Regions from separate parts of the Homo sapiens genome. Here regions 1, 2, 4, 5 and 6 are each linked to region 3. The links are contacts of gene promoters, found by promoter capture Hi-C in blood cells and fetal thymus (Javierre and others, 2016). All regions are on one chromosome and are shown on one strand. The core of a region is centred on a gene start or on the middle of the fragment in contact, and the rest is flanking DNA. Distances in the headings are between cores, read along the strand shown.

Region 1 (4,850 bases), core at 1,082-3,581, 300 kb before region 3:
GCATTAGAAGTCTTGGGACCTTGAGCTAGTTACTTAAATCCCTCTGAACCTCAGTTTCTCTTTTCTTTCTTTTTTTTTTTTTTTTTGAGACGGGGTTTTGCTCTGTCACTGAGGCTGGATTGCAGTGGCCTTGACCTCCTGGGCTCAATGATCCTCCTGCCTCAGTCTCCCGAGTAGCAGGGACTACAGGTGCACAACACCACGCCTGGCTAATTTTGAAATATTTTTAGAGATGGATTCATGCTATGTTACCCAGGCTAGCCTTGAACTCCTGGCCTTAAGTGATCCTCCCACCTAGGTCTTCCAAAAACACTGAGATTATAAATATGAGCCACCGTGCCTGGCCTGAACCTTATTTTTATTCTGTGTAAAATGAGGAACACAGGAGTGTTGTATGGATTAAAAAAGATTATGTACCTTGAGTGCTTAGCTCAAGGTACTTTAATATTATTAACTTTTAATAATAATATTAAAGGTTAAATTTAAATAACAACAATTTAAAGTGAATCACTATGAAATAGAAATATGGTATCAGTTGTTCAAAATAAAGGCAGTAAAAAGGAGGATGCTAACCCCAATCAATTACAAGGAAGGTAAGATGGAAAAAAGAGAAAAAGCAGGGTTAAGGACAGCAGGAAAAATGGATGGAAGTAACAAATAAAAAATGTTTTACATTGAAGATTTTTGGTTCCCATCATAAACTCGAATCACATGGACTGCATGGCCGATCACTACAGAGGAAGAGCAGGGGAAGAGCAAGCCACAGCCTCCTCCTTATATGTTTGGGGAGCCAGGGCATTCTTGCCATTTATCTCTCGGGTGTGTCCAGGTTCTCTTGCACATGACATGCTCTCAAAAGGTTGGGCATAATAGTCTTTCCTGTGCATGGTCACACCTCACAGTATAATTTCGTGGGTGTATGAATTCCATAGACACTCTCCCATCAAAATAATTATCATTTAGTGGTCCATTTTTTGAGTGGACTGTCTTATTAACACACCCGGGAAGTATCAAATGGTATTTGATAACTAAAGGAATTTGTTTACCTTGCACAATGTATTTAAGTTAGTGAAATTCCACTGTTGATTTCATTTGGTCCAACCCCAACACCACTGATTTTCTTCTCCACTGTTTCTGTATCCTCATTCACTCAACCCGTCCCAACTCTTAAGCTGTTTGAACCCAGTTACCTTTAATTCTGACTTCTGAGTTATAATTACTTGCATTTGCTGTCTGCCTTCATAATTATTAAATATTCTCAACATTATCTTGTTTAATCCTCAGAAGATGAGCCAATGATTAAACAGTATCATCCCCATTTTATAGAGGCAGAAAGGGAAGCTTGTGCAGGTTAAGTGAGTTTGCACAAGATTACAGCCAAAAAGGAGCCAAGCCATTTGACAAGGGTGTTCTCATTTCTGACTTTTTCCATTATGCTCCAGCTGTCCCCTCTTATCTCATCAAAGTCATCCTCATCAGCTACTATATAAGGGCATTTGCCTAGTAAGTCTTCATCTATTTCTCTTTATTTCTGTTCCTCCTGGTTTTCACTCCTAGCTTTCCCTGACTGTTCCAGCCATTTGCACTCCCAAGACCAGCTTTAGCCGATTTACCTTATTACATCCCAAAAAGGAAGAAGCCTTGGTGATTGGGTCTGGTTGTCCACCTATTTTCCCAGCTTTTAACCCAGACATCTTTGCCATGATCATGACTATTATTTCAGAACTTGGAGGACACTCTTCAATTACCTGCATTTCCTCTGGCAGAGCTGACAGACCATCCGTATGGGTAGAGTGCTCTTTGCCTCAATTGTAATAAAAATTTTAATTATTCATCAGTACAGTAGCTGTTAGACAAATGCCCAATTATTATTCATCCATAGCTAAGTAACCTTCTGCTCTTTTTTGGAACAGTGACAAGCGCAGCCCTGCCAGAACTGGCAGAGGGCACAGATCAAAGAGTGCTTTGTGCCTTGCTTTTACCAGGAAAGAGAAGGAGAGCCAGAGCTTCCTGCTGGTGCCCCGGCCTCCTCCCTCACCTGTCCCCCAATGCAGCTCCCTCCAAGCCCAACAGCCCCGAGTCAGGAAAGCTGGGAGCAGGGGAGACTTGGAGTCCCCGCCAGCAGGCTGCAGCTGTGGGGCACTGGGCACGGCCAGGTCACCTGGCAGAGGCTCTGGGTGGAACAGCTGCAGGGGGCTTGTTGCCAAAGAAGTGACAAAATTGCAAACGAGGGTTTGGAGAGTGGCTTTTGCTTAGACATACACTGTGGCTGATTTTCCTTCACAATAGGTGGCACCTCCCTGCCCTTCCCCTGCAGGCCCAGGTGACCAGGCCAGCAAAGTCGTGAAGGAGGACGTCTCCTCAGGTGGCAGCCCTTCCCTCCCTGCTTCTGGTTTCTCCTTCCAGTGACTCTTCCTTGTGAAGCTCCTCCTCCGGCTCACCAAAGCATCAGAACCTTTAGGCTGACCCAGATCTCAGGGATGGGGGCTTTTCCTGGCTGGACAGCTTTCCTAGTTTCCACTGTGCTACCTTTTCCTCTCAAAACGTAGCAGGAGGCAGCTCTTGGCCAGAGAGACTCATGCCCTCTGCCTACTCTCCAGAAAGCCTTTCTGCACATTCTAAGAGGCACCCAGGCTTTGCCATATCCCCTCTCATCTTCCATCCTGAGACCTTGTGGAACTTGCTGCCGGCGGCTTCCACATGGAACCTCAGCCCTTCCCCAGAATGGGTCTCCCACAGGGCAGCCCCTTCTGGCTGCTGCAGACCCCAGGGGTCTGTGCCTGTGGGACCCTCACACCACTACACTCAGCCTATCCAAACCACTCTGCTGCCACCTCCTTGTCCTTTCTGCAACACACCTTTCTCCCGAGGAGCACCCCCGTGTCACTTTCTCACCTCAGGGTTCCCATCCTCCCTTTCTCGGTCATGTCACCTCCCTCCCCTTTAACCTGCCATGGCTTTCCACCTTCAGCTGTAAAAGCTGAAGTCTTTACAATGCGCCTACGTGGTTGGCCCCCCAGTTACACTCCAACGAATACAAATTCTACTTTCCTCCTCCTCCCTCTCTCTTCGGCAGCTCCACAGGTAAAACCTGATCCTGCCTCAGGGTGTTTGCACTTGCTGCTCTCAGACTTGAAAACTCTTCACACAGATATTCACTGTCTTACTCCTTCATCTTCCATGTTCATTCTATACAGAGTAATGCCCAGCCGCTCCTCACCCCACCAACCTAATCTTTTTATGGCCTTGTTACCTCAATATATCATTTATTTATTTTTTGTTTATTGTCCACCTCCCTCTAGTAGAAGCTAAGTAAGCTTCATGAGAATAGAGACTTTGTTTTTGTTCACAGATAGTGGAGTGCTGTGGACTGAGTTGTGTCCCTCCCCTCCCCAATCATGCATTGAAGCCCACTGAGGAGCTCCTCAGCTGGCACCACCATTTCTGACAATTCCAGAGCTGACTGCCTGGGAAGAAACAGAGGCACCCAGGGCCTCTTGGCCTCTCGGTGTCTCTTCAAAGTCAAAGAATATTTGTGGTGGGAACGAGATGACGGGGAGTCAGAAGGATGGGAGCTGTGGTCACAGCATGAAGCACAGGGGTCCAAGAGTTCTGGGGGGAGGCTCAGGCTGGAGATAACAAGTTGGGTTGCCCAATGTGATGGTGTTTGGAGAGGGGGTCTTTAGGAGGTGATTAGGTTCAGATGAGGTCGTAAGAGTAGGACCCTCATGGTGGGATTAGTGTCCTTATAAGAAGAGACACCAGAGAGCTCATATGTGCTCTCTCTCTCTGCCCCGACCTCAGGCGAGGACACAGTGAGAAGGTGGCCATCACCAGACCCCAGCCATGCTGGCTGACACCCTGATCTCCGACTTCCAGACTCCAGAACTGATATGGTTTGGGTCTGTCTCCCCACCCAAATCTCATGTAGAATTGCAATTCCCAGTGTTGGAGGTGGGCCTGGTGGGAGGTGACTAGATCATAGGGGCGGGTTCTCATGAATGGTTTAACACCACCACCCCCCCCACTTGGTACTCTCTTTGGGATAGTGAGGGAGTTCTCGTCAGATCTGGTTGTTTAAAAGTGTGCAGCACCTCCTCCTCCCTCTCTCTCTTGCTCCTGCTCCCTCCATGTGGGACCTGTCGCTCCTGCTTTGCCTTCCAGCATGGTTGGAAGCTTCCTAAAGCCTCCCCAGAAGCAGAAGCCGCTATGCTTCCTGTACAGCCTGCAGAACTGTGAGCCAATTAAACCTCTTTCCTTTATAAATTACCCAGTCTCAGGTATTCCTTTAAAGCAGTGCGAGAATGGACTCTTACAAGAACTATGAAAAATAAATTCCTATTGTTTAAGCCATGGTATTTCGTTCTGGCAGCCTGAGCCAACTAAGACATGGAGGTTCATTATTGGTTTAAATAAATAAATATTTGCTTAAATGAACAAATTGATGTTCCAGGTAGCAAGGGGCCAGGAGAGGAAAGCTAGACTGTTGTGGTTGTCGCTTGTTTGCTCCCATGGCTACTCTGCCCCTGTGTGAAGTCGTCCGAGGCTATTACCACCTGGCTCTACCTCCTCTCATTGTCACCTACTGTTTCCTTGTGATTCTCTCACTGAGGCTTCATTCTTCATTTTCTTCCACTCAATTTTTAATACCCCTATAGATGATCTGCCTCTCAAACTGCTTCCTCAGTTTCAAGATCTTATCACCACTGCACTCCACCCTCCCACAGGACTTGCTATCCCACGCTGAGGATCCCCCCAGAAGTCTTACACCCCGTGCTTCATGCTGTGACCACAGCACCCATCCTTCTGACTCCCCGTCATCTTGTTCCCACCACACAAGCTGTTTGACT
Region 2 (4,646 bases), core at 407-2,906, 380 kb before region 3:
CAGAGCATCCACTTGGTGCCCTTCGGATTCTTTGAGTAAATGTGGAGCTGGCTGGCTCCTCAAGGGAGTGTGGAATCAGGACGTGGCTGGTTCCGGCTGCAAGAAAGTCCCGGTTATTCTGCGAGGGCGAAAGAGCTCCAGCGTTAGGGCTTCAGCAGAGGCGGTTGCTAAGGCGCACCAGTCCTTTACTTCGGACCAGTCTGACCTTAACGGGAAAGGCAATTTCCCTTTCTGTATGGGGAACTCATTTCCTTTGTTGCTTTCCTTATTTTCCTCCCAGGGTCTTTTAATTCCATCCTGATTGGGGCCTGAGAGGAGGGCATGGGTGAGGTGTGAACCAGCAGCGCCCTTTCTTCCTTCTCGCTCCGCCCCCAGGCAACACCCTCCAGCACCCAAGCCTACCCTCTTCCTCCAACGGAAAAATGCACACGGCATATCCGTGTCTGTCCACATGCCGGATTTCCCGGCCAGTTCTGATGTGAAATATCTTGAAAGTTTGCTAAGGGGCCACTTTATATTAAAAGAGGATTAAAAAATAAAGAAAATCCCATACCTCCAATCTGAAAGTCTTTTCTTGGTGCCATAAAAAAACTGAGCTATCAGCCCTCTGGTACCTTCGATTCCAGGCCAAAGGCCACTGCCTGGTGGTGACGGCCAACGTGGAGGCACCCAGGCCAGCTCCCACGGCATCTCTGCCGACAAGCAGTGACTCCAGCAGATTGTAGTAGCACCTACACAGCCAGAGCTACACCCAGGTGCTTGCTTTGCTGCAGTTTGGGAGGGATCAATGTTCCAGAGCAGCGGCTCACCAACCTTAGCATGGCTCAGTTGCTGGGCTCCACTCCCAGAGTTTTTGGGTGAATGCGTCCAGGGTGCGGCTGGGAAATTTGCATTTTTAAGAATTTCCCCCTGAGGCTGATGCTACAGTCTGGAGACCACACTTTGAGAACCACTATTTCAGAGTAAAATGCTGGTGGGAGGAAAGGAGCAGCAGGAAACAGCCGATGACTGTGGTGTGGCCGGTCTTTCTCCCAGGCGGGGTGGGGTGTGTGTGCCAGGATTGCAGGGTCACCAGGAGGGCCGGTTCTGTGGGGGCTGCTGAAAATCCTTATCCCTCCTTTCTAGACTAGTGGTTCTGAGACTTGGCAGCACATTGGAATCACTTTGGGAGCTTAAAAAAAGATACTGATGACTGGCTTCTAGCCCCAGACGTCCTGATTTAATTGGTTCACAATGTGGTTTGGGCCCTGGAAGATTTAAAAGCTCGCTAGGTGTTTCTGATGTGTAGCCCAGGTCGAAAAATCACGGTGCTAGGTCCACGTCTTACTGCATTCTTATATCCAGTCCCCAGTAAGTGTAAGTTCTCACCACCCATTCTCAAACCCTTCCAGCTGTCTCTCATACCTCCCTGCCTCAGGCTGAAAAACACTGGCACCTGTCTGAGTACTGACTTCCTATTTATCCTTCAAGACGCAGGCCAAATATTTTTTCCGTGGTGGAGATTTTTCTGGCTTTCCCTAACAGTTCATCTCCTAAAGCACTGTGGATACACTAGAACTATAACCTTTATCTTTCACTTCATCGCAATTACATTCACGTGCTGAATGTAATGATGTTTCAGTCAAAAACCGACTGTATGTATGAAGGTGGTCCCATAAGATTATAATGGGGCTGAAAAATTCCTATCACCTAGTGACGCTGTAGCCATTGTCATGTTGTAGCTCAATTACTTTATTTTAAAAATAAACAGTGTAGCCTAAGTGTACTGTGTTTATAAAGTCTACAGTAGTGGACAATAATATCCCAGTCCTTCACATTCACTCACCACTCACTCACTGACTCACCGAGAGTAACTTCGAGTTCTGCAACAGCCATTTTGGTAAGTGCCCTATACAGGTGTACCATTTTTAATCTTTTTTTTTTTTTTTTTTTTGAGATGGAGTCTCGCTCTGTCGCCCAGGCTGGAGTACAGTGGCCCAGTCTTGGCTCACTGCAAGCTCCGCCTCCCGGGTTCATGCCATTCTCCTGCCTTAGCCTCTTGAGTAGCTGGGACTACAGGCGCCTGCCACCATGCCCGGCTAATTTTTTGTATTTTCAGTAGAGACGGGGTTTCACTGTGTTAGCCAGGATGGTCTCGATCTCCTGACCTCGTGATCCGCCCACCTTGGCCTCCCAAAGTGCTGGGATTACAGGCATGAGCCACCACGCCCAGCCCATTTTTAATCTTTTATACTGTACCTTTTTCACGTGAGGTTTGTTTAGATACCCAAATACCATTGTGTTACAAGTGGCTATGATATTCAGTACAGTTACTTGCTGTACAGGTTTGTAGCCAAGGAGCAATGGGCTATACACCGTAGCCTGTTTGTGTTGTAGGCTGTAGGCTGTACCATCTAGGATTCTGTGAGTGCACTCTATCATGTTCACACAACAAAACTGCCTAATGATGCATTTCCCAGATGTATCCCTGTCGTAAAGCCCTGACTGTATTTCTGTTCATATCTTCCCTCCCTGCTTGATGGTTAATAAAAGTTGGTGATTGAATGAATTCCATAGTTGGAGATAATGTTAAAATGCACAGGTTCTCTTTTTTGTTTTGTTTTTTTTTTTATTGGAGACAGGGTCTCACTCTTTTGCCCAGGCTGGAGTGCAGTGTTGCAATCATGGCTCACTGCAGCCTCGACTTCCTAGACTGAAGAGATCCTCCCACCTCAGCCTCCTTAGTAGCTGGGACCACAGGCGTGCACCACCACTCCTGGCTAATTTTTGTAGTTCTGTAGAGATGGGCCTTCACCATGTTGCCCAGGCTGGTCTCGAACTCCTGGGCTCAAGCAATCTGCCTGCCGTGGCCTCCCAAAGTGTTGGAATTACAGGCCTGAGCCACTATGCTCGGCTATTGCACAAGTTCTGGATAAGGAAGTTTATTAATATCAGTTCTGTACAATGAACCTAGTGCCTCCAGTGGGGTCAGACTTGGGTGGGTGCTGGAGAAGCAAAGTTGAGTGAGCAGTGCACACTGCCCCTGAGGAATGAATTCCTCTGCAGGCTGAGCTCTCTGAGGCTCCTTGTGCTTTCATCATGACATTTAGCTTGGGAACTGCTTTCAGAGATACTGACCTGGAGCACAGAGGAGCCTGGGTCTCCTTTTCATCATGCTCTTCTGTGGCTCTCACCACCCACAGGATTAAGTAGGTTTCTTTGCATGTCTTTCATAAACTTGCGCTTGTCTGCCTCTCCCAAATATTTAATTCCTTGACCCTGTTTGATGCTTGGATCCTAGTTCCTTGCACACACCATGCTATTGCCAACTTATACCTTTCTATTCCCCTGAGATGATCTTCTCACCTTTGCTAGTCCGGGTAACTGCCAAGGCTTGTGGGCCTTCCTGACCCCCCAGGCTGAGTGCCTTCTCCTGTATTATATTCTCTTAGGATTTTATACATACCTCTATCATTATGTGGAAATAATCCAAACTAGTTTTTTTATGAGCCTGGCACACAGTAGGTGCTTTATAAGTGTTGAACTGAGATGAATGCTTACAGAGTGATTCTCAAACTTTATTCTACCTATGCATCATTCACATGCAAAACACACTCCCACACTTTATATCGTGCATGAGACATAGTGTTTCTTCATCCAGGGTAATGGGTTTAGAATAGGTAGGCACATCCTTCCAGGGGAATCAGGATATGAGTGGGAGGTAGGCTGGGACTAGTTAGAAATACCCTCCTTTTGCCACCTAGATTCTAATGTGTGTCTTGTTCTCAAGTTGAGAGCTGCTGAATTACTATAGGCCAGGTGGTGAGCTAGGCACTTTTAAAATTATTTCTAGAATGTTCACATTAGTCTTGCTAGGTGGTTATTATTATCCTCATTTTATGGATGATGAAACTGAGGTTAAAGGATTTGTGCAAAGCCACATAGCTGGTGTGCTAGGCCATTCTTGCACTGCTACAAAGAAATACCGGAGACTGAGTAATTTATAAGAAAAGAGGTATTATTGGTTCATGGTTCTGCAGGCTATACAGGAAGCATAGCAGCATCTGCTTCTGGGGAGGCCTAAGGAAGCTTCCAATCGTGGTGGAGTGCAAAGTCGAAGCAGGCATATCACGTGGCAAAACAGGAGCAAGGGAGGGGGAGGTGCCAGACACTTTGAAACGACCAGATCTCATGAGAATGAACTCACTTTCGTAAGGACAGCATCCTGGGGTTGGGGCTAAACCATTAATGAGAAATCCACTCCCGTGGGTCAGTCACCTCCCACCAGGCCCCACCTTCAACACGGGGGATTACAATCCAACATGAGATTTGGGCAGGGCACATATCCAGACTCTCTCAGCTGGTAAGTGACAGGTGGATGCTTGGACACACTACTTTCTGATGTGTTGCCATGCCTGTTTCCCCCAGTAGAACTGGGTTTCCCCTTAAAGGCATGGACTTGGTCTTAGTAATTTTTATATCCTCTGTACCTGACACAGAGCCTGGTGTCAGAAGGTCCCCAGTAAACGAGTGCCGAACTGAACTGAATCATTCTTGGTCATTTCTCTCTGCCACTTAGCTACAAATGTTTGGGATGACACATTTAGACCTGGTGTTGCAGTGCCTTCATCTCCAGAACCTTCATGGGTCAAATAACTGAGTCTGTC
Region 3 (4,304 bases), core at 1,669-4,168:
AAAACCTCTCCACAGTGAGAGCCTTTTGTGTCACAGGAGTTCGGTATATCAGGTTCATCAGCTCATCCTTGAAAACCTCTGACATTCGTTCTTCACTACACAGAAAAGCATATTGTTTACTGGACTCTAGAAGCAAGCAACTTGCTTGTGGGTTACCAGCAAACATTTTTTATTATGCAGTCACCGTACCACATCCCAAGGACTAAATGAAACGCAGCACACATCACCAGAACATTTCAGATGACCTGGAATAATCCCAGTCCTTGATCTCTAGTGCTTATTATTGGAACACTGAATTAAACAAACTCCATGGAAAGATACTCTTCACATACGTTCACCTAGACACATGCAGTCTAAGCAAATACATACTCGTTCCATAAAGAACGATCCAAAATAAAAGTGATTCTTTCCTTTCTGGTAAAGAACATTAAATCTATTTTAATTACATAGAAGTACACAGTAATGAAAAGAGGCACCCTGAAAGAACTGAGTTGTAAGCAATAAGGAAAAAAATGATATGCAAATTACAGACAATTTTCATGTTGCATTTAAGAACGCGTTTTGCTTGGGATTGGTTCTGTATGTGAGTAAGGCAAGGGACTGTTGTACTCTTTTTCCGACTGGAGCACAATGAAACAAACCACTCAGTAGCAGTCTGCAGCCAGCACACCACCATAAGCCCATCAAAACGGTGGGGATGCAGTATAGAAGAGGATCAAGAAACGTCACAGAAAGCATTGTTTTTTGTTGTTTTTGCCCTAAAGTTACTGATCTGTAGTTGGCAGATTTTCCTGATGTCGGGTTTATTGCCACTGAGCCAAATACAATTTATTTATTGAATATCCTACTATTTAGTTACCTCTATGTTATGAAGCGTCAAATAAATTAGATTATCTATACCGCAGGATTTTCCTGAACTCTGTGTAGAATCTAATTTATACCGCAAAAGAAACTGGTTTTGAAGTATTAATATCAAAGTACCCTAAGTTCTTTAGTGTGGCACGCCCCATGCCCACAGACATACATACTGCTACCTCCAGTTATGTACAAACACAAAAGCCTAAAAGTTCCATTAGGCATTTTTGTGAGGCAAAAACAAAGAAGCCCAAACCACCTTTTGATTTCACATTAGCCTATCCTCAAACCCATGAATATCTTTTCTGATAAGAAACACCAAAATGTGATTCTAATTATAAAAAACCTAGTAAGCACGTATGATGAACTACTGCGTTTCCCCTACACAGACTCTAATTGAAAGGCAGTGTTAAACCAGGAAGGGTTTTTCTAACTCCCCACAGACGAAGAAAACAGGTTATTTGTTCATTGTTGCTGTAGTGTCCATTCAGTGAACACACATTAAATAGGCCAAACCAAAAACAAACTTCAGCAGCTTCAGCCTCTCACAAGAGCGGAAGGCTTTCTACCTGGGTACTGGTGGAACAGCGAAATGAATAAAGTGTACAATAAATGCAGCGATGGGAAAAATAACACGGGTAGATGGATAAATCATCCTGCCTCCCAATGGTGGCAAACTTTACAACAACTTTTTAGAAGCAACAAACCGCAGCACCACAGTCTTTACAGATATATAGACATGCATACACACAACTACTGGGTAGCCCAGCAGTGTGTTTACAAACATCTACCGCCCTGCATTTACAGAGTGCTGCTTAGATAGCCTCTCTGCACTGTCAAACACAGAAGGTCATTTTGCCTGGTTGCTTAGTTCTTCCTCTCCCTCCATCACAGGAGTTTTCTACTTTGGGATTGCTCAACTTTCATATGGATCGGAGTAAAATAACTATTCAGCAACTTTATTCACCTTGGTTTTAAAAAAAAATTCATTGTGCAATGCCTAGGAAAAGCTGACACCAGGACTGTCTCTCCGACAGCGCTTGCAATTACAATCAGACGAGGGGGAAAAAAATCCTGTCTGATCAGACCCAGAGAGTCCTTTAAAAAAATAAAAAGATTCTATCGCAGTGGAAACTGAACAACTTTTTTTCTAAGACGACCACCCCTCGGGAACAAAAGTTATATTTCAGTCACATGTTGGGTGTAGGAATAGGGAGCAGGTTTTTTTTTTTTGTTTTTTGTTTTTTTTTTTTTTAAGCGCACTAATTACGGGGGTGTTTTACGGTTCTGGAGACAATCCGGGTTGCTCTGACCAATTGTGACCGGCATTTCATTGTCAAAAAGCAAGGGGGTGGGGGCCGAGGAGCCGGCAGGGGCTCGGCGGTGGGGGGGAGTAGCAAGGTTACGCTAAAGGGTACAGCAGCCACCGCGAGCTGCATCTCTTTCCCTCTCGCCCCAAATAATTTCCTGCGAACAGAGCAACTGCAACAGCCTGCTCTGAGGAGCCCAGCACGACTGCCCTGGCCGGTGCAGCTCAGGGTTTCCACCACGTAGAAGGAGGGGAGAAGATTTTTACCTTAATGCTACACTGAGCAGGAGTCTCAGACATGTCTCACAGCGAGAGAGATCAGGAAGTTCTCAGGTTTTTTCCACTTTCCTTTCCTCTCCCCAACCCAGAAAGGCTCCACGGCCAGCCAGACGCGGTCATTTAAGAAGTTTCTTCCAGCATCTCTCCCGGCAGCCGCCCCGGGGGTCTGGAGCGCGCGGGGCGGGGCGGGGCGGCCGGCGGAGTTGGGCGCGCGGGGCGGCGGGGGCGTGGGAGACGGGCCCGAGCGCGGCGGCGGGGTCTGCAGGTCGCGGCGCGGCGCGGGGACCCGGGACGCAGCCCGGCCGGCCTCCCGGTCTCTCCTCCCACCCGCAGCCGGCGCCCCCGCCCCCCGCCCTCCCGCGGCTCTCCCTCGCTCTCTCGAATGTTTTCCTTCCTGGAAGAGAGAAACTGAAAGGCAGAACTGAGAAAGCTCTTTGCTCATTGATCTTGAGAGTTTCAGTGCAGAAACTGACGTGAATTCCCAGCACTGAGCTCTGCCTCTTAAAGGAGCCACCAGGAAATAAAAGCTCGGGTTACAGCCCGGCATCGGGGAAATAAAAGCTGCGCGGGGGAGGGGCGGCCGCGGGGGCGCGGGCGGAGGAAACCCGGGTAGCGGGGCCGCGTGGGGCCGCGGCTGCGAGCGGGGCGAGCGGCGCAGCCCCCCAGGCCGGCCCCCGGTGCGGGCGCCCGCCCTCCACGCCGCGAGACCTCCCGCTGGCCGAGCCAATTTCCGGGCTTAAGGAAGACACCTTTAAAAAACGTTACATTGTGGCCCCAGACACCACAAAACAGGTTTTATTAAACTCCTCCCACCTCCCCTGGCTCCGTCTCTTGGATACATCGATGTGCACAAGGGTTTTGAAACGTTTCACTAAGCGCAGATGCAACGAAAGTAATTATCTATGAAGGGCCATTCCGGTTAGGACGCGGAATCCGAAGGAGGAAATAAAACAATAGCCTTTGTTCTGCTTCTCGACCGCTGCCTCTTTAAGAGAATCCACCAGGAAATGGGAGATCGGGTTACAGCCTGCACACGGGGAAATGTGGGGAGAGCGGGCGCCCGAGCGCGACGCCGGAGACAAAGCCGGGGCGGCCGCGCCGCAGACGCTGGGGGACCGTCGGGCGGGGGGATTCCCGGGGAAGGTGGGCGCCCCGGAAAGAGGTGGCGCCACGCGCCCGCTCGGGGATGCGGCGGCCGCGGGCGCTTCCCGAGCCGAGCACGCGCTCCGGGAAGGGAAGGCTGCAGGGCAGTTATCAAAGGCAGCTGAGTTCCTTTTCCTGACCTCCCCCTCCTGTTTCGAAATCCACTGCCCTTTTAAAGAAATAGCGGCCGCTACCAACCGAAATAGGTGACTCGACTACAAAGTTGGCAGGACGTGTTCCTGCAGATAATACCCCTCCCCAGGACCGCTTCTCTGAAACCGTCATTGGCCGGTTGATTGGATGGCCCTGGGATCCTGCAGGGGGAGGAATATTTGGTTGGAAAAGCAGTTGAGGGGGGTTAAGGCCGTTGGGGCTGAAGGGTCTAGCCCTGAGCACAAGTGATCTGATCACTCTATTATTTTTATTATTATTTACACTCTCTTAAAGTGTCCACCACAAAAAACTGAGAACATTATCATTATACTTAAATTCTAACCTTGTTAGCACATATTGGGGGTTTAATATGTGGATGTGTAATGTAAAAGGAAATTTGTTATAATTTCTTAATAGAGTAATATATTAAATATGGTATAAATATGTATATACGCATATATACCCATATATGTTACCTGCACTGGACCAGGACACATTTCCCCGAGTCTCCCCACCCTACAGATTTTTCCTACCCACTTTCCTTCACCTCTTCACATTATCAAAT
Region 4 (4,238 bases), core at 674-3,173, 400 kb before region 3:
AGCTACTCGGGAGGCTGAGGCAGGAGAATTGCTTGAACCCGGGAGGTGGAGGTTGCAGTGAGCTGAGATTGCGCCATTGCACTCCAGCCTGGGCAACAAGAGTGAAACTTCGTCTCAAAAAAAAAAAAAAGAAGAAGAAGAAGTTATAGGGCCATTGTAACCTTGTCCTGGTATAGATTGTGTCCCCTGAGCTGAGTTCAGCCCTGCCCTTGTGTTTTTCGAGGAAGAAAAGCAGGGAGTGAGACTACTTGCCTTCAAATCCCAGCTCTGCTATTAGATTAGCCCTATGGACTTGGGCAAGTTATTTAACCTTTCTGTGCCTCAGCTTTCTAATTTGTAAAATGAGAATAATAAAAATTCTATCTATCTCACAGGGCTGTTATGAGGATTCAGTAGGATGTAAATGTAAATATGTAAGGTGTTTCCAAAGGTGTTTGGCTCACCCACATGCTAGAGAAATGGTGGTGGTGGTGCTGGTGGTACCATCATCATTGTCATTCTAAGGACACTGTCCATGTCCCCAAGGGACCTGATCAGAATGGTGATGGGTGCTGCATCAGTGAAACAAGAATACTGAATTCATGAACCGTCTTGCTCTTCTACTACCCCTGCCCCAAACACACACCTCACTCCCTTGATATGGGCAGGCTTCTCACTTTTAGGCTTTGGCCTAAGTTGGAATGCTCAGACGTATACTCCTTTTGGTCTCTATCACTAAACTTTAGAAATTATCTCGTTCAGGGCTCTTATTTTAGGTATGCTCAAGGTCAGACAGAAGCTAAGAAACCAAGGTCCTGATACAGCAATCCCACTTCTGGGTATTTATCCAAAGGCATTGAAATCAGTATGTTGAAGAGACACCTGAACTCCCATGTTCATTGCAACACGATTTACCATAGCCAAGATATGGAATCAATCTAGGTGTCCATCAACAGATGAATGAATAAAGAAAATGTGGTATATATGCACAATAGAATACTACTCAGCCTTAAACAGGGGTGAAATCCTGTGATTTGGGACAACATGGATGAATCTGGAGGACACTACGCTAAGTGAAATAAGCCAGGCACAGAAAGACAAATATTGCACGATCTCACTCATAGGTAGGATCTGAGAAAGTTGATCTCATAGAAGTAGAGAGTACAATGGTGGTTACCAGGGACTGGGGGTGGAGCGGTGGTTGGGAAAAGGCTACACAGTTTCAGTTAGACAAGAGGAATAAGCTTTACTAATCAATTGCACAGCATGGTAACTATAATAAGTAATAATGCATTGTATATTTCAAAATTGCTAAAAGTAGATCTTAAATGTTTTTACTGCAAAAAATTGGTAAGTTTGTGAGGTGATGGATTTACTAATTAGCCTGATTTAATCATTCCACATTGTAAACCTATATCAAAACATCAAATTGTACTCCATAAACATGTATTATTACTACTTGTTAATGAAAAATAAAAATAAAACGAAAAACAAAGGAAGAAGAAAAAAACCTCAAAAAAGAAAAAGAAAACAAGGTCCTCAGCCGTGTCCTATTTTCTTTGCACTCACCACCCACGTCCTTCTCACATCTGATTGTTGAAGTCTTTCCAACTCCAACTCAATTCCACTTCTTCTTAGAACCTTTCCAGATCCTCCAAGGTAAGCTGGGCTACTCTTTCCCCATGCCTATATGATTGTAAGTTGTGTGTAGCTATTACAGTACTTACGGTCTTTGTTTTAGTGTCCATCACCTATGCCTCTTGTCTTCACCCTGTTTGCCTAAAGAGCAAGGAGATAATATTCGCTTTAGGGTCCCACTTGGCACAAGCATGGTGCTTTGCATATATTAGACTATCATGAAGTGCTCATTGAATTGGGTATTAAGATTGTATAATGTGGACTATTTATCTTAGAAGAGAGAAGATTTAGGAGGAATGGAATTGACTCTCATGGAAAGATTCGATTCAGCTACCTAGTGCTAAAGAGCAGAATGGGGACCAGGGGCTGAAAGTTACCAGGGGGTAAATTTGATCTGGCTGTGTGGGGCGGATTCTTCCCAGTGACAATCATTTAATGAGGAGATGGGTGCCTCATGAGAGGCGAGTTAAGGTATTCAAGCAGAGGCAGGATGGCCACTGTCAGGAGTGGAGTAGAGGGGAACCCTCGGGATTCCCTGTTTATTAGCTGAGTTTCAACATCACTAGAAACCTCGGTGATGTTTTAGGTTCCCATGTAGCTACAGACTACAGCAGACGCATGGGGTACCTGATGTGCAAACAGGGTTGAGACAGGCCTAGCACTGCCCAGTAGACCTGAGTCTGGCTTAGGTTCATTCTTGACTCTTGCTAGTCTAGTCTGCAAGAAGCTGAACTCACGAAAAGCCAGCTCCTTTTCCCACCATCTCTATTTATTAACCCCTCCCTCACTCTTATACACCCTGCTCACTGCTGTCTGGTGCCCCTACAAGGTCAATTTCACGCTGAACTTTACTACAGTGAAAAGTCCTGAGTTTCATCTAAAAGCATTTGAGGTGTCTTAAGTTAAATTCTAAAACCTTTCAGTTTAGCTTCAGTTTATGGTGCTATTCAATCCTTATCGAGCACTTCCGCCAAAAGGTCCTAAATCTCTCTCTTATGCAAGCTTCCACGGGCTGCATGAGGCCCAGGATGGCTTTGAATGTGGCTCAACACAAATTTGTAAACTTTCTTAAAACATTATGAGATTTATGCACGGCCATTCTTTTTTCTTTTCTTTTCTTTTCTTTTTTTTTTTTTTTTTTTTAGCTCATCAGCTATTAGTGTTAGTGTGTTTTATGTGTGGCCCAAGACAATTCTTCTTCCAGTGTGGCCCAGGGAAGCCAAAAGATTGGACACCCCTGTAAATAGGCTCTTAGACTCGAAGCTATAGTTTCTGTAGTTCTTCTGCCTATTCTATTTCCTTCTCAAATTACGGGTCGCACTGTTCCTTTTCAATTTGGGTTCCAGGTCTACTCCTATAAGCTTCTGGCTAAAACCTTTCTGTTTTTGCAGACTCCTCACTAATAAGTGTCCCCCTTGGCATTTTGCTCTTAGGATCTGGTTTTCCATATTTTTGAGGCTCTTTGTTTCTTCTTTTCTTTTCTTTTCTTTTTTTTTTTTTTTTTGAGATGGTGTCTCCCTCTGTCGCCCAGGTTGGAGTGCAGTGGCGCAATCTAGGCTCACTGCAAGCTCCGCCTCTCGGGTTCACGCCATTCTCCTGCCTCAGCCTCCCGAGTAGCTGGGACTACATGCGCCCGCCACCACGCCCAGCTAATTGAGGCTCTTTCAAGACTCCTGTCCAGCCTTTGCATGCCAGGGCATTAGTCGTGGCCTCCTATTGAACCCCACCTCCTCCCAAGTCCATCTAGGTCTCTTTACATCACAGTTTTGCTCCCTACCCTTGGCCCTGAGTGTTTCTGCCACCTGGCCTCATTCCTAAGGTTCTTGCTCAGGGAGGTCAGTAGACTATCTGCCATATATCAGCCTGATAAACGGATTGTCTCCCAAGCATCTTCCTTCACACATTAAATTTTAGGAAATATCAAACTTAAGAGTGGACTCTATTTCAAAAGCACATTTATAAGAAACTTATGTAGCACTCACATTTCCCCCTTACAATAACGTTCTTCTAGGTGGTTAGTTCTGCCAGGCGAGTCCAGGGGAGCCCATTTAGCCTCTAGGATGAAGCGAAAGCACTGGGACCTTAGAATCTTTGGGAGTAATAATAGTGGGATAGAATAAGACTGCAGTGTAGAACGGTGTTTCTACGGGAAACTATTTCTAGAATTCCGCCTTGGATTGCTGGGATTCCTTTTTTTTTTTTTTTTTTTTTTTTTAGATGGAGTCTCGCTCTGTCGCCCAGGCTGGAGTGCATTGGCGCGGTCTCGGCTCACTACAACCTCTGCCTCCCGGGTTCAAGCGATTCTCTTGCTTCAGCCTCCTGAGTAGCTGGGGCTACAGGCGCTCGCCACCAGGTCCGGCTAATTTTTGTATTTTTAGTAGAGATGGGTTTTCACCATGTTGCCAGGTTGGTCTCAAAACTCCTGACCTCGTGATGCACCCGCCTCGGCCTCCCAAAGTGTTGGGATTACAGGCGTGAGCCATCGCGCCTGGTGCTGCGATTCCTTTAGCTGTCTGCAGTGAGACTGGGCAGCCCCTACCCCCATATTAAAAGAAAAGAAAAAACACATCCTGCAATTTATTGAGGAATCACCGCATACCGGGCAGTGTAAACTCATTATC
Region 5 (4,393 bases), core at 1,405-3,904, 330 kb before region 3:
GGTCCCTGCTGGCTAGAAAGGGATTTCTGGCCACTTGTGCATATGGGTATATAAAATTATACAGAGATGTTATGACAATAACCTGGGAAATAAAAGAATATGGTTAACCATATTCCCATCCTTGGTAACCAACTGACACTAATTTTTGATCCAGGGCAAGTGTTTCTTTACCTGATTAATGCCTCCCAGAATTATTTGAGCTCTTCAAATTAAAGATAACATTGCCAATATTGTAGCTCTAGGTCCACAGTCATTCAGCTTGTTGTCAATGCCTGACTATTGAGTGAGTCATTATGAATAGTTTACAAGCTGGGGAGTCTAGACTGTCCTATTGACTCTGGGTTTTCTGTCAATCTAATTTTTTTTTCATATGCCCTCTTTCCTCCCATTTTAGCTTTGCTCGTGTGAAATCCAGCAGGCTGCTAGACAGATCAGAGGTCATGGTGGAGAATGGTGGCAGAAAACTCACAGAGATGGTGGCAGAAATATTAGATATATTTTGCTTTCTGTCCAAGAATTTTGCAATCTGGGGGTTTCCTTGAAGCTGAAATTGTGTTTAGCTTCCCAAGTGCAAGCATTATCCAGGTTCACCTTCTCCCATGCTTGGCAGGAAATGTAGAATCCTTTCTTGGATGCTTGCCTCATGTGCATCAACTGTTAATGCACATTAGACGGCTGCAGCCCAGCCCTGGGATGGCACTCTTGAGGAACATGGGCTCAGGATCATTAGTGCATACAGGTAGCCTGCCATTTCCCTGTAACAATGAGGAATGAGGTCCAGTCAAGGCCTTGACACAAAGCACACCCAGAAGGCAGCATGGATGGAGCTAGAAGCCAGAGCTGCAAGACTCCGGATCCCCCACTGCCTGCCTTTCTTGCCTTCTTCCTTCCTTCCTTCCTTCCTTCCTCTCTCTCTCCCTCCCTCCCCCCCCCTCTGTCTCTCTTTCTTTCTTTCTTTCTTTCTTTCTTTCTTTCTTTCTTTCTTTCTTTCTTTCTTTCTTTCTTTTCTTTCTTTCTTTCTGATGGAGCCTTGCTCTGTCGCCCACTGGCTCACTGCAATCTTTGTTTCATGGGTTCAAGTGATTCTCCTGCCTCAACCTTCCAAGTAGCTGGGATTACAGGCACACACCATCACACCTGGCTAATTTTTGTATTTTTAGTATAGACGGGGTTTCGCCATGTTGGCCAGGCTGGTCTTGAACTCCTGACCCCAGGTGATCCGCCCACCTTGGCCTCCCAAAGTGCTTGGATTACAGGCTTGAGACACTGCGCCTGGCCCCCTGACCATGTTTCAATTGCACCTGTGGATTTCCACCTTCCACCTTTTCTATGCAGGATAGTCTCTGAAAGCAAATTTACTTATGGGCTAATTTATAAAATCAAAGATTTTTAAAAACTATGAAAGTAGTAAGTTGTCAGTATAGGCAGATTGGAATATAGAGAAAAGTGCAAATAAGTAAACAAAATCACTCATGATCCCACAACCCAGACTTAATCACTGCTGGTGTTTTTGTTTTTGTTTTTTTTTTTTTTTTTTGAGATGGAGTCTCACTCTGTCGCCCAGGCTGGAGTGCAGTGGCGCGATCTCGGCTCACTGCAAGCTCCACCTCCTGAGTTCATGCCATTCTCCTGCCTCAGCCTCCTGAGTAGCTGGGACTACAGGCGCCCGCCACCACGCCCGGCTAATTTTTTGTATTTTTAGTAGAGATGGGGTTTCACCGTGTTAGCCAGGATACTCTCGATGTCCTGACCTTGTGATCTGCCCGCCTCGGCCTCCCAAAGTGCTGGGATTACAGGAGTGAGCCACCGCGCTCGGCCTACACTGCTGGTGTGTTTTTATATTACCCGAGCTCACAAAGAATTTGGTGTTTGACATACAAGCCATTTCTTTTGAGAATTTGTGAATTTTTTTTTTTCTTTTCAGCTTGTGTCACCCAGGCTGGAGTGCTGCGGCTCGATTGTAGCTCACTGCAGCCTCGACCTCCCAAGCTCAAGCGATCCTCCCAGTAGCCTCCGAAGTAGCTGGGACTACAGGTGTGCACCATCACACCTGGACAATTTTTAATTTTTATTTTTAGTAGAGATGAGGTCTCACTACATTGCTTAGGCTGAAAATCTTTTTTTTCATATTCTTTGAAACCACTTATCTTTAATCACTGAAAAATAACTCACCAGGATCTATTTTACTTTTCCAATATTGATGGCTATTTATTTTTCCTTCAATTTTTGCTATCTTAAATCATGCTGCAGTGAGAATTCTTTCCTTAGGATTCCTTCTGGAAGGGGAACAGGAGTCCTCATGTTTGATAGTGAATGGGCGTATCACCTACTGCTGTTAATGTATAAGTTAGTATTAGGTTGGTGCAAAAGTAATTGCCATACTGGCAAAAACCGTAATAACTTTTGCACCAACTTAATAAAACATTTTTGATTAGCACTATGAAGACCACTAGTTTCACACCTTTTAGTATAAAATTATTTATATGTTAAGAAATAATTGAATCTGATAAGACAAATCTGTGCTCGAAAGTTTCTTTTTTCTTTTTTCTTTTTTTTCGAGACAGAATCTTGCTCTGTCACACAGGCTGGAGTGCAGTGGGATGATCTTGGCTCACTGTAACCTCTGCCTCCCAGGCTGAAGGGATCCTTTCACCTTAGCCTCCCAAGTAGCTGGGACCACAGGTGTGCACCACCACGCCCGACTATTTTTTTCTATTTTTAGTAGAGACAGGGTCTCGCTGTGTTGCCCAGGCTGGTCTCAAATGCATGAGCTCAAGCGATCTGCCAGCCTCCCAAAGTGCAGAGATTACAGGCATGTGTCACCATGCCTGGCCTCTATGCTCAAAATTTGCTTTGCAACATTTAAAAAAAAGTGAAAGATTGAAAAGATAAAAGCCCTGGCTTAGGAAAATTCTTAAATAAATTATGGTTTATTCTTCTGATTGAAAGTAATATTTATGAGAGTTTGAAATGATAATGAAAAATGTTGATTTTAAGTGTAAAATATAGATACAAAAGTGTATGTATTGCATGAGCTTGAATATATGGAACAATGTGCTGAGGAGGGACCTCTGACAAATATTAGTACTTATCTTTGCATGGCAAGATTAAATGATTCCTGCCCGCGCCATTCTCTGCATTTTTATACTATCTTAAATATGTTATTTTTATAATTGGGGGAAGAGTTGTGTTATTCACGTATCACAGATGGGGTCACTTCCAGGGAAGGAGATGTGGCTGGTCTGTGTGGGTTCCTTTTCCTTCCTATCAGGAAGCATTCTAAGCATGGTCAAAGTCATATGCTAGTGCTCTGTCCTCTTTAAACAAGATAGTGCCTTATTATTTTGTTCAGCTTAACACAATCTACACTCCAGCTTGGTTTTCCTGAGTATATTTTCCCTTAATTCCATTTTTCTAGCTTTCAGACACTTTGACGCTTTCTCCCAAGTGAATGAAAGCCCAAATGTTGGGTCTAACTCCCAACGTTTTCTCTTAATTTTGCTTCTGTTTCAAATCTCGGGGAATGTTATTTTTTCAGTTGTGCATATATGCATACACACATCTATCAACATTGATGAGTTGTAATTCACATACCATACAATTCACCCACTTAAAATGTACAACGCAATTGTTTTTAGTATTTTCCCAGAGCCATATAGCCGTCATGGCAATCATTTTTAGGACATTTTCATCACCCCCCGAAGACATCCTGCACCCATTAGCAGTGACTCCCTGTTTCTTCCCACCCCACCCTACGCAAGCCAACTCGCTAATCTACTTTCTTGTCTCTATAATTTGCCTACTCTGATATCATAGAAATTGAGTCATACAATATGCAGCTTTTGTGACTGGCGTCTTTGACTTAGCAAAGTGTTTTCTAGGTTCATCTTTGTTGTAGCTTGTATCAGTATTTCATTCCTTTTTATGGCCAAATCATATTCTACTGTATAGATTTACCATTTTGTCTGTTCATCAGTTGACAGACATTTGGATTGCTTTTGGTCTTTGGCTGTTATGAATAATGCTGCTATAAACATTGTATAGAAGTTTTTGTGTGGATATATGTTTTCATTTCTCCTGAGTATATACCCAGGAATAGAATTGCTGGTTCATATGATAACTTTAGGTTTAACCTTTTAAGAAATTGCCAGACTGTTTTCCAAAGTGGCTGTACTATTTCATATTCCGCCAGCGGCATATTGAAGATTTGAATTTCTCCACATTTTTACCAACATTTGTTATTATCTTTCTTTCTGATTATAGTTGTCTAGTGGGTATGAAGTGATATCTCATTGTGGTTTTGAGTTACATTTTTCTGATAGTTAATAATGATGAACACCTCTTCACGTGTTTACTGGCCATTTTTATATGTTTTTTGGAGAAAGGTCTATTC
Region 6 (4,445 bases), core at 299-2,798, 350 kb before region 3:
TAGAGTCTCCTTAGAAAATAACAAGGAAGACCAGCCTGGGCGACACGGCAAAACCTCATCTCTACAAAAAAATACAAAAATTGGCCGGGCATGGTGGCTCATGCCTGTAATCCTAGCACTTTGGAAGGCTGAGGCTGGCAGATCACTTGAGGCCAGGAGTTTGAGACCAGCCTGGCCAACATGGTAAAACCCCATCTCTCCTAAAAAAAAAAAAAAAAAAAAAATACAAAAAATTAGCCAGGTGTGGTGGCATGTGCCTGTAGTCCCAGCTTCTTGGGAGGCTGAGGCATGAGGATCGCTTGAACTCGGGAGGCAGAGGTTGCAGTGAGCCAAGATAGCACCACTGTACTCCAGCCTGGGCAACAGAGTGAGACTCTGTCTCAAAAAAACCCCTACAAAAATTAGCTGGACATGATGGTGCAGGCCTGTAGTCCCAGCTACATGAGAGGCTGAGGCAGGAGGATCACTTCAGCCTGGGAGGTCGAGGCTACAGTGAGCTGTGATTGAGCCACTGCACTCCAGCCTGTGCAATACAGCAAGACCCTGTCTAAAAACAAAAAAAGTAACAAGGATACTTTAGAGAAGAAAAGAAGCAAATCATGGAAAAGGCCTGGCTGGTCGGGAAGCCATGCAGGAACACTAGTGCCCCAGGCAGACAGTTAGGCTAGAGCATATTCAAGGTGGGAAGAAGCACCAGGATTCCTCCAAAAGTCAGGGGGCTGGCTGCATTGCAGTCAGTGTGTCTTGGTGGTGACTGGTGAGTTCTCCTCAGGCAGCCCCAGGTTGGAGAAGATGCCTTCCTTCCCCAGGGGACCATGACTAATAGGGGATCCTAAATTCTCCCCTAAGGCAAATCAGCTGGAATTTTCCCAAGCAGATAGAAATATTTTGAAAAGAGGCAACATTGATTGAATTTTGGAGCCAGAAGGACCTGGGTTTGCATTTATCAGAGGCATTCAAACCAGAACGACTCCATCTTGAATAGGAGCTGGGTATAATAAGGCTGAGACGTACTGGGCTGCAATCCCAGAAGGTTAGGCATTCTTAGTCACAGGATGAGACAGGAGGTTGGCACAAGACACAGGTTACAAACACCTTGCTGATAAAAACAGGATGTGGTAAAGAAGCCAGCCAAACCCCACCAAAACCAAGATGGCGATGAGAGTGATCTCTGGTCGCCCTCACTGCTCATTATACACTAATTATGATGCATTAGCATGCTAAAAGACACTCCCACCAGTGCCATGACTATTTACACATGCCATGGCAATGTCGGGAAGTTGCCATATATGGTCTAAAAAGGGGAGAAAGCCTCAGTTCTAGGAATCACCCACCCCTTTTCCAGAAAACTTATGAATAATCCACCCCTTGTTTAGCATATAATCAAGAAATAGTTATACGTATAATCAGTTGGGCAGCCCACACTGCTGCTCTGCCTATGGAGTAGTCATTCTTTTATTCCTTTACTTTCTTTTTTTTTTGAGATGGAGTCTTGCTCTGACTCCCAGGCTGGAGTGCAATGGTGCGATCTCAGCTCACTGCAACCTCCACCTCCTAAGTTCAAGCAATTCTCCTGCCTCAGCCTCCTGAGTAGCTGGGATTACAGGACTGTGTCACCATGCCTGGCTAATTTTTGTATTTTTAGCAGAGGCGGGGTTTCACCATGTTGGCCAGGCTGGTCTCAAACTCCTGACCTCAGGTGATCCACCCACCTCGGCCTCCCAAAGTGCTGGGATTATAGGCGTGAGCCAGTATTCCTTTACTTTCTTAATAAACTTGCTTTCACTTTACTTTATGGATTCACTTAGAATTCTTGTGCGAGATACAAGAACATTCTCTTGGGGTCTGGATCTAGACCCCTTTCTGGTAACACTTTTTAACTATGCAACCTCTTACCAGCTGTTGTCCTTAGCTAAGATCCTCAATGTCTAGATATCTAACTCCCACCTCTGCAAAAATGGGGATAATAGTGTACACTTTTTTGGGCAGACAGTACATAAATCTTACAAAATAATATGAAGAACATAAGAAATTCCATAGTTATGTAATTCAGAATAGATGTGGATGTTAAAAGTGTTATGGATTTTTTAAATGTCAGATTTATTTGTCATAATTTTGCTGTATTTTTGTTACTTTTGTTCTTATTTTCCAAATAAAGAAAATAAAGGTTGACTTAGACAGATCTCAGAATTCTCAATTTCTACCTTGGCCTGTTTGCTTGACTGCCAATGCTGTGTGTGTTTTACACACACACACACACACACACACACACACACGATGGATATCATCAAGAAATAGCACCAGAATCTTTGAACTAATTTCAGAGTTTAAAGCAGAAAATATCAGAGTTCTGATCCTCCCAACGTTTTTTTGTTCAGTACTTTAAAATAGATATATTTTTGTGATATTGTGAAATATGTGTATATATATAATATCCTTTATAACGAAAAAAAAAATATATATATATTTTGAGACAGGGTCTGGCTCTGTTGCTCAGGCTAGAGTGCGGTGGCATGATCTCAGCTCACTGCAACCTCCACCTCCTGGGCTCAAGCGATTCTCCTACCTCAGCCTTCTGAATAGTTGGGACTACAGACGCATGCCACCACAACTGCCTAATTGTTGTATTTTTTATAGAGATAGGGTTTTGCCATGTTGCCCAGGCTAGTCTCTTGCTGGGATTACAGGCGTAAGCCACTGCACTCGGCCTATATTTGGTTTTATACCAGATTCCTGGCGTACAACTTCTAAAATCCTTAGAATTTTTATTTTTATTTTTATTTTTTTTAATTTTGAGATGGAGTCTTGCTAGGTCACCAGGCTGGAGTACAGTGGCGCAATCTCGGCTCACTGCAACCTCTGCGTCCCAGGTTCAAGTGATTCTCCTGCCTCAGCCTTCCAAGTAGCTGCGACTACAGGCATGTGCCACCACACCCAGCTAATTTTTGTATTTTTAGTAGAGATAGGGTTTCACCATGTTGGTCAGAATGGTTTCGATCTCTTGACCTCGTGATCCACCCACATTGGCCTCCCAAAGTGCTGGGATTACAGGCGTGAGCCACCACGCCTGGCCCAAATCCTTAGAATTTTTAAAGTGATGTCTTTTTGTATGCTACCGATTGACTGGTGGCTGGCAGCTCCAGGATGAAGGCTGGTCACCACAAAGACTGAGGCAGCATTAGCATTAGAGGGTGGGACTTTCCTTCCCATGCCCCAACCTCAGGGAGGGGGAGTGGCTGAAGGTTAAGTTGATCACCAATGGCCAGTGGTTTAATCAATCATGCCGACCTAATTAAGCTTCCATAAAAACCCAAAATTCCTGGTTTGGAGAGTTCTGGATAGCTGAACACATGGAGGTTGCTGGAGGGTGGCATGCTGGGGAGGGCATGGAAGCTCCGTGCCTCTTCCCATACTTCTCCCTGTGCATCTCTTCATCTGTATCCTCTGTAATATCCTTTATAACGAACCAGCAAATGTAAGTAGGTTTCCCTGAGTTCTGCGAGCTGCTCTAGCAAGTTAATGGAACCCAAAGAGAGGGTTGTGGAAACTCCAACTTGAAGCTGTCAGAAGTCCGGGGGACCCGAACTTGTGACTGGTGTCTGAAGTGGGGGGACAGTCTGTGGGACTGAGTTCTCATTTTGTGGGATTGTCAGAGGTGTTTGAACTAGAGCAACTCCATCTTGAATAGGGGCTGGGTAAAATAAGGCTGAGACCTCCTGGGCTGCATTCCCAGTAAATTAGGCATTCTCAGTCACAGGATGAGCTAGGAGGTCGCCACAAGACACAGGTGATGAAGACTTGCTCATAAAACAGGTTGCAATAAAAAAGGCCAAAAACCACCAAAACCAAGATGGCAAAGAGATTGACCTCTGGTTGTCCTCACTGCTACACTCCCGCCAGAGCCATGGCAGTTTAGGAATGCCATGGCAACGTCAGGAACTTATCCTATATGGTCTAAAAAGGGGAGGCATGAATAATCCACCCCGTGTTTAGCATATCATCAAGAACTAACAGTAAAAATGGGCAGCCAGCAGCCCTTGGGGCTGCTCTGCCTATGGAGTAGCCATTGTTTCATTCTTTTACCTTTTTTTTTTGAGACGGAGTCTCGCTCTGTCCCCAGCCTGGAGTGCAGTGGCGCGATCTCGGCTCACTGCAAGCTCCGCCTCCCGGGTTCACTCCATTCTCCTGCCTCAGCCGCCCGGAGTAGCTGGGACTACAGGCACCCACCACCACGCCCGGCTAATTTTTTGTATTTTTAGTAGAGATGGGGTTTCACCGTGTTAGCCAGGATGGTCTGGATCTTCTGACCTTGTGATCCGCCCGCCTCGGCCTCCCAAAGTGCTGGGATTACAGGCGTGAGCCACCGCGCCCGGCCGCTTTCACTTTTTAGATTTGCCTCGATTCTTTCTTGCGCGAGCTCCAAGAACCCTCTCTTGGGGTCTGGA

Evidence for each region. The method cuts DNA at HindIII sites, captures the fragments that hold promoters and counts their contacts. A CHiCAGO score of 5 or more calls a contact.
Region 1: a fragment that was not itself captured here is called in contact with the fragment with the promoter of ETV6 in region 3 in 2 of 17 cell types (activated CD4 T cells and non-activated CD4 T cells); the score reaches 5.8 in activated CD4 T cells.
Region 2: a fragment that was not itself captured here is called in contact with the fragment with the promoter of ETV6 in region 3 in 15 of 17 cell types (activated CD4 T cells, M2 macrophages, M1 macrophages and 12 more); the score reaches 23.3 in activated CD4 T cells.
Region 4: a contact is called between a fragment that was not itself captured here and the fragment with the promoter of ETV6 in region 3, in 1 of 17 cell types (non-activated CD4 T cells). The highest score is 5.3, in non-activated CD4 T cells.
Region 5: a fragment that was not itself captured here is called in contact with the fragment with the promoter of ETV6 in region 3 in 3 of 17 cell types (activated CD4 T cells, monocytes and naive CD8 T cells); the score reaches 6.8 in activated CD4 T cells.
Region 6: a fragment that was not itself captured here is called in contact with the fragment with the promoter of ETV6 in region 3 in 2 of 17 cell types (activated CD4 T cells and non-activated CD4 T cells); the score reaches 6.0 in activated CD4 T cells.

The regions. Positions count from the first base shown.
Region 1 is chr12:11,947,415-11,952,264 of GRCh38, reverse strand. No RefSeq gene overlaps it. Among named protein-coding and RNA genes, the nearest start is that of BCL2L14, 120 kb to the left of the region's middle. RefSeq lists an enhancer at 1,657-2,441. The HindIII fragment of the contact is 1,976 bases long and covers 1,344-3,319 here.
Region 2 is chr12:12,028,700-12,033,345 of GRCh38, reverse strand. No RefSeq gene overlaps it. Among named protein-coding and RNA genes, the nearest start is that of BCL2L14, 40 kb to the left of the region's middle. RefSeq lists enhancers at 443-542, 993-1,042 and a silencer at 4,511-4,580. The HindIII fragment of the contact is 4,828 bases long and covers 1-4,070 here.
Region 3 is chr12:11,648,288-11,652,591 of GRCh38, reverse strand. It overlaps ETV6 (ETS variant transcription factor 6), which reads right to left and starts at 2,918. Exons shown (of 8, transcript NM_001987.5): 1 at 2,432-2,918. The coding sequence starts at 2,464. RefSeq lists silencers at 2,566-2,725, 2,736-2,785, 2,996-3,205, 3,496-3,735 and an enhancer at 3,916-4,015. The HindIII fragment of the contact is 9,207 bases long and covers 1-4,304 here.
Region 4 is chr12:12,049,316-12,053,553 of GRCh38, reverse strand. It overlaps a transcript of BCL2L14 not described here. Among named protein-coding and RNA genes, the nearest start is that of BCL2L14, 20 kb to the left of the region's middle. The HindIII fragment of the contact is 1,396 bases long and covers 1,226-2,621 here.
Region 5 is chr12:11,975,086-11,979,478 of GRCh38, reverse strand. No RefSeq gene overlaps it. Among named protein-coding and RNA genes, the nearest start is that of BCL2L14, 94 kb to the left of the region's middle. The HindIII fragment of the contact is 6,562 bases long and covers 1-4,393 here.
Region 6 is chr12:11,995,439-11,999,883 of GRCh38, reverse strand. No RefSeq gene overlaps it. Among named protein-coding and RNA genes, the nearest start is that of BCL2L14, 73 kb to the left of the region's middle. The HindIII fragment of the contact is 3,502 bases long and covers 1-3,299 here.